Linked DNA regions of Homo sapiens: region 2 is linked to region 1. The links are contacts of gene promoters, found by promoter capture Hi-C in blood cells and fetal thymus (Javierre and others, 2016). All regions are on one chromosome and are shown on one strand. The core of a region is centred on a gene start or on the middle of the fragment in contact, and the rest is flanking DNA. Distances in the headings are between cores, read along the strand shown.

Region 1 (2,668 bases), core at 116-2,615:
TTATTTCACATTTCCGTGTATCTGTTGTTTTAATCTCTTTCGTCTGCGCTAATCTCGAAGTGGATTATTAATGGGGAAGACAGAGAAGGAGAGATTCATTTGCAGGACTTATTTTGCTGTGTGAGGAGCCGAAAGCCAGCAGCCCCCAGTCCTCTCTCGACTTTTCTCTGCGTCCTGTGCTCCTGCATCCTCCTGATCCCACGATCCCCATTGTCCCCGAACTGGCCCTCGGACTGAGGGAGTGTTCGGAACAAATTTATATTCCGGCTTCCTCCCGACCCCATCACCTCTGCCACGTTGGGAACTCTCTCGGCCAAATGCCTGGGGAGGGGCGTGCCAGTCAGGAACCAGGGGCAAGGCAACCTAGCCGCAGCGCTCACCCCTCGCGGAGACCCTTCCCGTGCCACCATCCAAATATCTACCTTCATGGGAACCTGGAAGACTGCTTTTTCACCCCAAATCAAATACTGGCTAGTCGGAACTCCCAGTGATAAATGTTGGGGACTGCCTCCTGCCACTTGAGCAATTCCTGAGTCCAGGGTAATCAGATGATTAGGTGTTTTTAATGGAAATACTTAGGGTTTTTTTTTTTTTTTTTAAGTCAGATCCTAAGTAACCTGACATTTAATATACATAATAAAGACAAGTGTTTTGTTAGCTATTCGATTGGATCCTTTGACCTGAGGTTATGCTTGTGTGTGTGTCTGGTCTGTAAGCCTCCAATGGCTACCTGGGTGCCTGAAGAGGAGTCTTGCCTGTAATAACTCTATGCAAAGGGCTCCTTCTTCCTTAGGAGTGGTGGAAGGGTGGCTGTAAAGCAAACGTCTAGAGAAAGCTGGATTCCAATCTTTTAAATTAAAAAAGAGGAAAAAAAGGAAGAGGAAGAAAAATGGACATGAACAGTGGTGCTAAATCTCAGAAGAGGAACTTGATAAGTCACACATATATTTAGTATAGATATATAATAATGAAAGAAATGTAAAATATAAAATTAAGAATGTGCCTGACCCATGTTGAAAATCTTTGATTTTATTTATTAATAATTTTTAAGCTGAAGATCCTGAATGCCTTTCTTCTATAGACACTTTATCTGTGATGGGGTGGGGGGAGAGAGTTAATTTATCCAGCAGCTATTTTCATTATAATAAATACTTAAATTAGGAAAGAGGTGAGTAACCAACTGTGAAAATCTACTTTCTTGCATCCTAGAACAAGATCTAGCTGTGGTCGTGCTAGGTAGCTATTAACCACCCCCACCCCACTCCCCCGCCCCGCAAAAAAAAATACAAAATACAAAGACGTATACCTCTGGGAGTGTGGATGTGGCAACCCATGTGGTGGCTTGTCCCTCCTTTGAGTGCAATTGCCAGTGACTCTTGCATTCAAAGTCTTGCTTTAGGCACACATTCAAAGCACAGTTCAAAGCAGTTTATCTTAATATAGTGTTGGATCAGGGTATTATTTGTTTCAGATTTCATCAGACTGGAAACAGGAGGGTGTAACATATTTAACAATATTAAAGCTTAAAAATTGGTGTGAGGCAGCTCTCTGGTCCTCTTAACACCTCCACCTTTACCTTTCCGAAGAATCCTAAATGCTGTGAGGCTAGAAGTTTATTTGTGCTCTGAGGTTCTCAAGCACTTTCACTCTTTAGGAAAAAAAAAAAAGTCTCACAGTTATTTAAGAAATTGAGCCTGAACCATCCGAGGATAGGAGATTTCTTCCTTTTCCGATAAATGCCTGTGCTCAGCATCCTCAAATTTGGCTGTCTTTATTTACTTCTATATTAGTTCCAATTATGTGCAGTGTAAACCAGCTTTTTGATTAACAAAACAGCAGAGCATTGGTTAAGAACACTTAAACTTCAAAAAAATTCCCCTGGGAAGTGGGCTCTGAATTGGTTAATAATGTGCAGTACTTGCTAAATTGCTGACTTCCAGATGTGGAAAATATCTTTCTTGTTTAGGACCTATGTAACCTGATTGGATTACGACAGAAGCGTCACGTTGGAAGCTTTTGAGTGATTATTTAATTAACCATACAGTAGAAAGCTGTATTCTCCAGGAAATCCCTTCCATATTTGCATAACCAATCCCTTCAGAGCAAAGGTGGAGTCTTTTCTTTTTAATCTTACTTTAATTGTAATATCAAAAAATATATACTCCAAAACTTAGACCCCATGCCGTTTAATATCATGCTCTCCCTTCCCTGCTAAGTTTCTCTATGGCCTTTCTCGTTTCTCCTCCTGCCTCCCTACACACTCTCCCTTACTTTGTAGTGAGGTCTCCCCGAGGTGTAGAGAGATTCAGAGATCGGCCAACCGAGTGTTCTATTTTAATTTACTTAGAGACCCTTTATTAAAATGCCAAACTACTTTTTAATATTGGGATCCAGTCCAGAAATTCATCATGCACACACCCTAATACACATGCCCTAAGATGCAGCTCCCATGCAGCATTTTTTTTTCTGGCTCTGGTACCTAAAAAGAAAAAAATAACAATAAGAGAAAGGGCAGAGAACTTTGTTCCAGAAGCTGTACTGAGATACCTACACAATTTGATGTGCATCTCAAATCTGGTCATTAGAGATATCTGTATAAGAAGAGACTATCTGGATTGAGGACCCGGGATCTTTCCCTTTAACTTTCGCCCCTTGGAGTTCTCCAGTT
Region 2 (2,668 bases), core at 50-2,549, 530 kb before region 1:
TGACTAGACCACACTGGAAACAAAATACATACCTTACAAACTCAAAATTAATGAGTGCTGATGAGATGATCCAATGCAACAGAAAAATGATACAGTCTTTAGCTTCTTATATATTATAAATAACCAATTTGTTGGAACAAACTCCCACCTGCATCTAAGTATGCCTAAGAGCAGAAAAGAAGGACTAGATCCCTGCAAGTGGAAACCCCTGTGGCATGCTGTTGACAGGCTGAAATTTCCATGCCGTCTCTATTATTCACAAACAAAATGTTATTGTGGTCCTACTAGGCACCAGGATCTGTCCAGATGTAGAGAAAATAGCGTTGAAAAGATCTGGAAGATATCATTGTAATGGAGCTGATAATTGATTGGGATGAATGGAACAAAGGATCATAAAAATGAAAAGTAAATAAACTGAAAACGGAGTGAAATGTGCTATTATGAATAAAATGGGCTAATGAGGTGGAGATTTAGGGAGTACTTTGGGTTGGGAATTCAGAGTCTTTCCTCAACAGGTGACATTTAACCTGAGAATTGAATGATGAGAGCCAGCTATGTGATCAGGTTGAAGAGAATTCCAGATAGAATCTTTTATTTTGACTTAAAACTTCATTTAACTTTTATGTTGGATTTTATAATACATGCATGCTTCTTTCAGTGTAAATACACTGTGGACTTTTCCTCCGACATTAATGTCATATTCATTGAGAAGTCCATTCAGACAGCCTTCTCCATTTAGTTGCTTTGACTTCAGTTCATTTTGTCACTTCTTATAAACTAGCTGTTAGACATTGTTCCCCTCCTCTTAGCCAATCTCCTTTTCCTCCTTTCCACTTTACTCATTAATATATGCAATATACTTTCTCATCTTATCTCTAACTCTCACCCCCATCTGAACTCATTACTGAAATGAACGATGGGGTGTCTCATTTGACATATTACTTGTTAATAAAAATTGTGATACCCAAGTGGCCTCAATAAATTGTGTTCATACAAATTAAGGTAATATCAAATCGGCTGTTTCAAAATGTTCTTTTTTACCCCTTATCATTCTGACACACATCCCTAAGAGGGATCATTTTAAAAAATATATAAGAATATTAAAATAATTTCATTTTAATTCTGGTAGTAAGATGGTAGCAGGTTAGATCTGAGTCTTCTCTCCTCTCTTGGACTCTACGCAGTAAGGAAAACAGCAACAACAAAATTCGTGAACTCCATTTCCAGGGAAATAGCAAGATAAATTTCAAATTGTGTAAGTGTTGATTAAAGCAGCTGAGGCTGACAAAGCCTTTCAGAAATCCCTGCGGAAAGAGGCAACAGAAGCAGCAGTAGACTATGAAAAATGGGGTGGCATGTTGGGGGTTATAGCTAGTGGTAGGGAAACTTAGCAAGTGCCAGAAAAAAAATGTACACCTTCTATATAGGAACTATGTATTCTTTGGTGATAGTGGCCATGAGGACACTACAGAGCATGGGAATGAATGTAAAAGCACTGATGTAGTGGATTAGGTTCTGAGGAAAGCATGGGCTACAGAAGGGGTCATACTAAGAAAACGTTCATCAGTAGACAGTGAAGTTTCTAAGAGGTTTTAGGGTGTTTTCACTCAGCAGTCTCATAGGGAGCCTAAGATAAAGGGTTAATCTCAAAGAGATTTGTAGACATGGCTTTTCTCTAAAGGAGTATATTATTCAGTGATAACTAAGAAACCAAAAACTGAGCCAGGAACAGGAGCTGAGGCCTGTAATCCCAGCTACTCAAGAAGCTGAGGTGGGAGAATTGCTTGAGGCCACAAGTTCAAGACCAGCCTGGGCAATATGGCAAGACCCTGTTTCAAAAAAATTAAAAAAGAAAAAAAATCAAAAACTTTTTAAATTAATTACATTGGGTTAGACTAAAATGGACAGAAATTGTACAAAATAAGAGGGCTTTGAACCTCAAAACTTCTACAGCTACAGAGCTGGTTGAGAAAGCTATTAACATGTAGATGTAAATATTGGTAATTTCTATTGGAAAAGAAAGGATAACTCAAAGGGAAGAATCAGGAACCCAGAGGGTATAGCCAAGACTCATGGAGAATCATTTTTAGGGAGTCAACAAGCCCCAAACCATGCTGGATTTCAGAAATTGCTGTGAACCTTATACAACTGGATTATTTGTTGTAATAACTCTATCTCTATCCCAACCCTGCATATTGTGGCAGGGGGAAGCAAGAGTGCAGAGAGTACATGGTCCTGATTTAATTGACAAAATTCTGGACTACCAGCTGATGCCATAAGAGAATGAAACTTTTGCAGACTTTGGGAGGAGATGAAAGTATTTTATATGTTAGAGAAAGTAAACAATTCATGGCCAGAAGATGGAAGGTGTAGATTAAAGATAGCCACAAATTATTTTCTAGACTTCTCTTTCAAGTATAATTCCTCTCCACTTAAATCAGGGCTGACCCTAGTGTTTGCTTACTGAATCAAATGCAAGTAAATTCAACTACTTCTGAGGCTGAGGCTAGGTCATAAGAAGCCCCTTAGAGCTCACCCAGTCTCCTTGTAATACCCCTTTTTGAGCCATGAGCTGCCATATGGTAAGGTTGAATACCCTGCTGAAGATACCACCTGGAAAGGCCCTGAGACCACATGGGAAGGAAGAGGGTCCCAGCTGAGCTTAATT

The links. The method cuts DNA at HindIII sites, captures the fragments that hold promoters and counts their contacts. A CHiCAGO score of 5 or more calls a contact.
Region 2: a fragment that was not itself captured here is called in contact with the fragment with the promoter of LINC01412 in region 1 in 1 of 17 cell types (neutrophils); the score reaches 5.1 in neutrophils.

Annotation. Positions count from the first base shown.
Region 1 is chr2:144,520,565-144,523,232 of GRCh38, reverse strand. LINC01412 (long intergenic non-protein coding RNA 1412) reads right to left here and starts at 1,365. Exons shown (of 3, transcript NR_110570.1): 1 at 1,307-1,365. It overlaps ZEB2-AS1 (ZEB2 antisense RNA 1), which reads right to left. Exons shown (of 4, transcript NR_040248.2): 4 at 2,334-2,479. The HindIII fragment of the contact is 4,746 bases long and covers 1-1,524 here.
Region 2 is chr2:145,052,960-145,055,627 of GRCh38, reverse strand. All of the region lies in intron 3 of TEX41 (testis expressed 41), which reads right to left. The region is part of intron 3 of LOC100505498 (a long non-coding RNA gene); the gene reads right to left. Among named protein-coding and RNA genes, the nearest start is that of LINC01966, 170 kb to the right of the region's middle. The HindIII fragment of the contact is 4,878 bases long and covers 1-2,668 here.